Regions from separate parts of the Homo sapiens genome. Here region 1 is linked to region 2. Evidence: promoter capture Hi-C in human tissues and cell types (Jung and others, 2019). All regions are on one chromosome and are shown on one strand. Each heading gives the region's core, a stretch centred on a gene start or on the middle of the fragment in contact. The rest is flanking DNA. Distances are from core to core; before and after follow the strand shown. Region 1 has its middle 17 kb from the start of TOR1B. Region 2 holds the start of PRRX2 (paired related homeobox 2).

The links. Contacts are between HindIII fragments. The study calls those that stand out against the background at their distance.
Region 1: a fragment that was not itself captured here is called in contact with the fragment with the promoter of PRRX2 in region 2 in 2 of the 25 tissues and cell types used here (adrenal gland and lymphoblastoid cells).

What each region holds. Positions count from the first base shown.
Region 1 is chr9:129,783,829-129,787,731 of GRCh38, reverse strand. No RefSeq gene overlaps it. Among named protein-coding and RNA genes, the nearest start is that of TOR1B, 17 kb to the left of the region's middle. The HindIII fragment of the contact is 6,559 bases long and covers 1-3,903 here.
Region 2 is chr9:129,664,202-129,668,258 of GRCh38, reverse strand. PRRX2 (paired related homeobox 2) reads right to left here and starts at 2,612. Exons shown (of 4, transcript NM_016307.4): 1 at 2,133-2,612. The coding sequence starts at 2,391. The HindIII fragment of the contact is 13,961 bases long and covers 1-3,970 here.

The sequences.
Region 1 (3,903 bases), core at 227-2,726, 120 kb before region 2:
GGGCCACTATCATCCATTCTACTCACGTTGGAAATGCATCCCCTATCTACTTGTGGCCGGGGGCTTCCTCTTTGTCAGGTGTTGGGACTCAACAGTCAATAAGAAAGACTTGGCACCACCCACCAGGACTCCCACCTGGTCGGGAGGTGGGGGCAGAGGGGCAAGTCCCCAGCAATTACAGTCCAGTGGGATCAGTGCTGTGCTGGGGGAAATACAGGCACATATTGTCCATTTTGCTTTCATAATCCCTCCAGGCTTCGTTCCTCCAAGCTCTCCCAACCTTACCTGAGATACTCCTGCTGTCCCATGGAGAATTCTTTATAAGTGCAGTATTGTTGAAATACACCCCAAGGACATTGCTACTGCTGCTGTTGAAAAGCTTCCTGTTCTTTGGGTTTGTGAATACACAGTACTCTGGTCTCCCACTATTGTTCCCTAACCAAGTGCCACCTCCAGCCCCAAACCGATCACAAACGGGATGGCCAAGCACTGGGCGTGGGAATAACCGGTCTGAAGCTCAGCCACGCCGCTATAGACTGTGTGACCTTGGCCGTCATTTATTTTCAATCAAGGCTCAGTTGTTCACCTGTGAGTTCTCTGCAGGATATGGTTATCCCTGAGCTGGCTTCTTCTTACCCTGAGACTTGCTCACGCCCGTTGACCTCCCGGTGGTTGTGGACTCAAAGGCTGTCAACCCACTTAGAAAGCAAAACATAGTGGGGAAAGGAAAGCTGCTGTCCAAAGGGATCACACACCACTGTCACGCGCTTCTGTGTGAAGAGTCCACTAACAGGCTTTGTGTGAGCAACAAGGCTGTTTATTTCAACTGGGTGCAGGCGGGCTAGTCCGAAAAGAGAGTCAGCAAAGGGTGGTGGGGTTATCATTAGTTCTTATGGGTTTGGGATAGGCAGTGGAGTTAGGAGCAATTTTTTTGTGGGCAGGGGGTGGATCTTAGGAAGTACATTCTCAAGGGCGGGGAGAATATTACAAAGTACCTTCTTAAGGGCGGTGGGCGGGGGAATATCACAAAGTGCATTATCACAAGGGCGGGGAGCGTGTATTGTCATAAGGTCAGTTGATCAGTTGAGGGTGGGGCAGGAACAGATCACAATGGTGGAATGTCGTCTTTTGTGGATCTTCAGTTGCTTCAGGCCATCTGGATGTATACGTGCCGGTCACAGGGGATATGATGGGTTAGCTTGGGCTCAGAGGCCCGACAACCACCAAGGTACCAATCCGAGGTTGCAGAAGGAGGTTAATGGGTTGTATCCATAGGGACTTTTTTTTTTTTTTTTTAAGAAACAGGTCTCACTCTCTTGCCCAGGCTGGAGTACAGTGGTATGATCATGGCTCACTGCAGCCTCAATCTCCTGGGCTCAAGCAGTCCTCCCTCCTTAGCCTCAAGAGTAGCTAGAACTAGGCACATATCACCACACCCAGCTAATTAATTTTTTTTTTTTTGTAGAGATAGGGATTTGGCTCTTTTGCACCCTCCAGGGCTTGGACCAGTGCTTCACACATGGCGGGAAAAGGAGAGCATCTTGTCAAGAACTGGGAAGGGTCTGATATTTTGCCCTGCTTGCAAGCCCACAAGTTAGCCTGCCAGTTACATGGTGGCTGGCAAAGACATGAGTCTCCTGGGTCAGAGACAAACAACTTTATTACTCATGGCACAGCAGATGTCAACAAATATTTGTGAAATGAATAGATGGTTGGATGATCTTCAGTCCTAAGCTACATACCCAGGAAATGGCAGCTCCCAGATTTCTTGGGGACAACAAGAGTCTCTGAAGTCAGTTAAAGAGCAAAGGAGGAAGACAAGGCCAGTTTGGCAATGTCCAGTGAAGCTGAAGATGTGTGTACCCTGCAACCCAGAAATTCCACTCTTTGAGTCTTTATCACATTATGGCTCATGTGGACAGTGTAGGTATTTGTACAGCCAGTGAGGCTAGGGGAGGAGCTGGCAGAGGAGCTACCTGGGCCACAGCTCTGGCTACTGCAGACCTTCCTGCTGCTCATCTGTGACCTTCATGGCAAGGAGGGTGCAGAGCCCTGCCCTGTAGGAACCCACACATTTGCATGTGGAGACACATTCAAGGATGCTCATGGCAACATGATTTATGACATTAGACATTGGAATCACACCTAATTTTCCATCACTAAGAGAATGGATGAACCATTGTTCAGTTCTACAATGAAATATTATATAGCAGTTAAAAATGGATACACTTGAACTATTGTGTGTCCATATCAGTAAATCTCAGGAGTCAGAGTTGAGGAAAAAGCAAAAGTAGCAAGATGATATACACTCTTCTCTCTCCCTCCCTCCCTCCTTCCTTCCTTTCTTCCTTTCCTTCCTTCTTTCCTTCCTTCCTTCCTCTATTGCCCACGCTAAAGTGCAGTGGTGTGATCTCGGCTCACTGCTACCTCCGCCTCCCGGGAAAAAACGATTGTCATGCCTCAGCCTCTCGGGTAGCTGGAATTACAGGCATGAGCCACCACGCCCAGCTAATTTTTGTATTTTTAGTAAAGACAGGGTTTCATCATGTTGGCCAGGCTGTTCTTAAACTCCTAGCCTCAAGTGATCTGCCTGCCTTGGCCTCCCAAATTGCTGGAATTACAGGCATAAGCCACAATGCCTGGCCTATTTACATATTAAAAATGCAGCATGCCGGGTGCGGTGGCTCACGCCTGTTATCCCAGCACTTTGGGAGGCCAAGGTGGGTGGATCACGAGGTCAGGAATTCAAAACCAGCCTGGCCAAGATGGTGAAACCCTGTCTCTACTAAAAATACTAAAAAGTAGCCGGGCCTGGTGGCGGGTGCCTGTAATCCCAGGTACTCGGGAGGCCAAGGCAGGAGAGTCGCTTGAACTCAGGAGGCAGAGGTTGCAGTGAGCCAAGATTGCACTATTGCACTCCAGCCTGGGTGACAGAGCGAGACTCCATCTCCAAAAAAAAAAACAAAAACAAAAAACAACACAGCACCCTATCCATTTTTATGGACACATAATACATGTGTAGCTGAAGTAAAAACTAAACACAAAAAGGAACTGATATTTAAGCATATCCTGAGAGTGACAAAATTTTTTAAAAAAAGGAATTGATATACTTCAACTTAGACATGGAGATAACTTTTGGAGAGGAATCCCAAAGTGATGGGGCTTGAAGTTTTAGTTTTATTAAAGATATAGAGATCTAGGCCAGGCACGGTGGCTCATGCCTGTAATCCCAGCACTTTGGGAGGCTGAGGCAGGAGGATCACTTGAGTCCAGGAGTTCAAGCCCAGCCTGGGCAACGTAACAAGACCCTGTCTCTACAAAAAATACAAAAATTAGCTGGGTATGGTGTTGCGCGCCTATAGTCCCAGCTACTCGGGAAGTTGAGGTGGGAGGACTGCTTGAGCCCGGGAGGTTGAGGTTGCAGTGAGCTGTGATGGCACCACTGCACTCCATCCTGGGCAATAAAGCGAGACCCTCTCTCAAAAAAAAAAAAAAAAAAGAGATTTGAAGCAAATATAGTAAAATGCAAAATGTAATCTCTGCTAAATCTGGGTGGAGAGTATGTTCTCTCCTCTATCTTTGATGAAATAGTTGATAATTAAATGAAAAAGTTAAGATGGTCTCTAGAGGGATAGCTTACACACATCAGGAGAATCTGGCCTTTGGTAACCTGAAGAGTGTTGCTATTTTTGCCGGTGAGAGAAGGGCTAGAAAGCATCCATTTCTCCCCAACCGTGCCTCGCCAGGGGCTTGGCCGAGGGAGCCTGGGGTACTTCCCTAATCTAACCACTAGATGGGGCCAGTACTACGGGTTAGAAATGGGGAGACCCGAGGGAGGGCTGTGGGATCCTTCTAGCAACTTGACACAAGGAAGAATCAGTTTTTGCAAGAAACAGAGGATGA
Region 2 (4,057 bases), core at 1,363-3,862:
CACCTTTGGAGCCTTCAGGACTTGGGAGTCCACAGCAAGTGGCAGTGGTGGGGCCGCCTGACCCAGATGGATGAGTTGGAAACTGGCGCCTGCCCTGCAGTCCCCTCTCTCCACCTTCTGCCTGTAGACCCAGATCCGGGCCACACCCCGGGCGGAGCCCAGGGACTCTCCCTGCCAGGGCTCCATCGTCCTCAGGGCAGAGCTAGGCAGCTTCCAAGACGGACCAGCCCACGAGCGCCTCCTGGAGCCTGGCCCAGACCCCACCCCACCTGATCCCACACCCAGTGTGTCCCAAGCATGCCTGGGTACTCCCAGTGTGCCAATGCCCCTTCTTAGGAGAAGGCCTGGAGGCCTCATGGGCTCTCCAGGAGGGTGGCTAGCCCCAGGGAGCTGCTGGGGAGACCCACTGCACACCCAGCTGCCTGGAGGCTGCCAAGGGCCTTGTCTAGGCGCCCACATCCCCAGCTGACACTAGCTGTTCTGGGATCCCCGGGGAAACCCGCCACCAGAGACCTCCAACACCGTGTCCGGGAGAAGCACGGCCTTCCCTGGCTGTCCCCACAGCAGGGGTAGGTCAGAAATGGGCAGGCCGTCCCCTGGCCAGGACTGGAGTACGAGACACCCTGGCCCCCTTCCTTCCCTCCTCACCCCTCTCTCCTCTCCCTTCCTTCCTCTTCCTCTGTCTCTCCTCCCTCTCTCTCTCCTTTCCTTGCCTTCTCCTTTCCTTCTTTCCCTTCACCTTCAAGTTGTTCCTCCTTCTCTTCCCAACCCCTGGAGTCTCCCTTCATCAGGGTAAACCGGGACCTCTCCTCTGTCCTGGGGTTGGGGGACCGGCTCAGAGCCGCTGAGGTCCTCAAATGACCTTGGGCCGGCAGGGCATTCCCCCAGCACAAACCAGAGGGCACCTGCTTTCCTCCGGGCCAGAGTGGACATCTCCCTCCCCTTTTCTACTGAGGAGCTAAACCCCAACTCCTGGGAGGTCTGCTGGCTTCACACTCACCCCGGAGGGTGCAGCCAGTGGCCAGTCCACTGTGGCCAGTGAGTGGTGGCCGCTGCCATGAGGGAGCCAGTGGCTTCATCTCAGCCACAGGCTGGCAGAAGGTGCCCCGTGAAAGGCAGGCGTGTCGCAGGCGTCCTCGTGGACGCACATGGATTCAGACTAGGCTGCAGCCACCTCTGTTTTCCCTGCACCTCCTGTCTCTGAAAAGCCAAGGAACGCAGCCACCAGCCTGGGCACCCTGAGACCTGGAGGCTGGTGCCGGGAACAGGGTCCCCCGGGGCGGGTGGGAGGGCTGCTGGAGTCAGGCGGGCACACTTCAGGGGCCCAGAGCCCCCAGCAGGCCGGCCCATCCCCAGAGCTAGGGGACAGGGGCCTGGTTTCAGATCACCGGGCCCCCATCCTTAGTGTGTGCTGAGCCGCGAGGACTCCGGTCCTCCCCTCCCCCACTGAACCGTCCGGGGCTGGGGCCTTTGCTTTTTCTCCATCTTCTCCCCGTCCCTCCCCTTCTTACCAAGGGCTCAGGACCCTGCCATCCTGTGTCACTTTTTGAAAAAGGCCACTTGGGTGGGTTGTTTGTTTTTAAAGCCCCTTCCTGATGACCTTTGACCTCTGCCGGGGAAGAGAGGCCTGGCTGGGCCGTTCCACCGAGGCAGCTGCTCCCGGGGCAAACTGGAGGGTGGGGGGGGGTGGGCAGGCACCCTCGCCCCCCAAAGAGCCCAACTTAAGACCGAGGAGGAGCTGGGGCGGCGCTAGCTCGTGCGGGAGGGGGCGGGTTTGAAACCCCAACGTGCAGCTCAGCGGCTTTGCCCGACTCAGGTCTCTGTTTCCCCAGTTGTAACCCGGCAGCAGCCACACCCACTTCCCAGGCTGTTCGGGAGCCGAATACTGGGGAGCGAAGGCAGCGCACTTCCCCGTGGGGACGCACCCCAAGACCCGAAGAGGGTCCCCCTCCCCCAGCCCAGAGTGCTGGTCAACCGCCGTCCACCGTCACTTACACGCGCCCCCAGAAGTCCTGCCGCCGACCACGCGCCCTGCATCTTCGCCCGCCCCGCGCCGGCTCCCCGGACCCCGCGCCCCGGCCCCGGCCCCGGCCCCGGCCCCGCCACCCCCGTCCCTGGCCGGCCGTACTCACCATCCTGCGGCGCCGCCTCGCTGCCGCTGCTGCCCCCGGACGGCTCCCGTGCTGCGCCCTCCCGCGCCTCGGCCCTGGCCCCGGGGCGCGCCGCCAGCCGCCCGGCCGCCGCCACCTCTTCCAGGTCCAGGAGGTGGCTCACCGAGAAGTTCTTGCGCGCCTGGGCGCAGTCGCCGGGCCCCAGCGCGGGTGGAGGCGGCGGCGGCCCCGGGCCCAGCGCCGGCTTGTCCAGGGCGAAGGCGGCGGCCGCGCTGTCCATGCCCGCGAGCGGCCCCGGGGGGGCCGGCGGGGGTCTCGGGCTCGGGTCCCAGGAAGGGTCGCGGGCGCGGGTCGGAGCGAGAGCCCCGGCCGCCCCGCGCTCTGCCCAGCTCCCGCCGCCTCCTAGCCTCGCGGCCCGCCCGGCGCTGACGTCGGGGAAACAAACTTTCCGCCCTCCCCTTCTCAGCCACGGCCGCTCGCTCCGGAGCCGCTGGTGCACGCGCTGCGCCGGCCACACGCCCCTTCTTGAAGCAAACCTCGCCCCCCGTCCTCTCCTCCGCCCTCTCCTCCCCGCGCGCCTCGCCCGCCCCCACCCCGGCTGCTGGCGCTGGGGGCGGGGAAGGGGTGTCCTCCCTTCACCCTCCCCACCCACTTTTTAGGGAGTGGGAGGTTCCGTGTTTTGTCGTTTTCCATCCCCCAAGTATCTGGGAGGTGATGGCAGAGGGATTCCCCCCTTCCCTTTACAATCGCCTCCGCAGGTGGAGGGGGCGGCCCAGAGACGAAGGCGACGAGCCCCCCACTCCCAGCTCCAGCCTCACTCGCCTCAGCGCCCCCAACAACGGCCCCGCCCGCCCGCGCTGGCCGACAGAGCTCTGTGCACACCACCCGCCCCAAGGCTGTCTCTCCCAGCAGGCAGCGCATCCTCAGGCTCCTGGGGTGTACGCGACCCCCCACCCCGCCTCTCCCCCGCTGCTCCCTGCCAGGTCCCCCACACACACCCACACACCCGGTGCCCACCCCCCAGGAGGCCCCAGGCCCTTCCCCAAGGAAAACCAAGCGGAGAGGCAGGCGCTTCGTTGCAGAATTCCTGGCGCACACACAGAGGACAGCCAGCCTGAGACGGGTGACAGGAAAGAGAGAGGCAGACTTAGGTGTCCGCTCTTGTTTCAGTTTTGTTTTTCAATGAAAGCACAGAAAAGATGTGCGGAGTGAGCAGACCTGAGACCCTAAGCCCCCCGGATGCCACTGCTCTTTCTCCAGGACAGCCGCTCACCGGCCCGTCCCTCTGTCGCCCTGCCCTCACTACGAGGCATAAAGTCACATCAGCCAAAGTCGCCTACCGGAGGAAGCCTTCAGCACATCCTTTCCCTGTTCCCATATGGAAAACCGGCCCGCACACATCCCTGAAAGCCTGCGGACCATTATTTTTATTTATTATTTATTATTATTATTTATTTTTATTTTTTTGAGACAAGAGTCTGGCTCTGTCGCCCAGGCTGGAGTGCAGTGTCGTGATCTCGGCTCGCTGCAACCTCCGCCTCCTGACTTCAAGCGCTTCTCCTGCCTCAGCCTCTCGAGTAGCTGGGATTACAGGTGTGCATCACCATGCCCGGGTAATTTTTGTATTTTTAGTAGAGGAGGGGTTTCACCATGTTGGCCAGTCTGGTTTCCAGCGTCTGACCTCAGGTGATCCACCTGCCTCGGCCTCCCACAGTGCTGGGATTACAGGCGTGAGCCACCGCACCCAGCCGGGAACACTATTTTTAAGGAAAGCCTAGCAATACATTATAATACATTAATCCTCACAGCGTGTGTTGTTTGTGTCCGCCCCCACCCCCTCCCGCGCTGGAAAGGAATCGACTTCAAAATGAGGCCGAGTAGGCCGGGCACAGTGGCTCACGCCTGTAATCCCAGCACTGTGGAAGGCTGAGGTGGGTGGATCACCT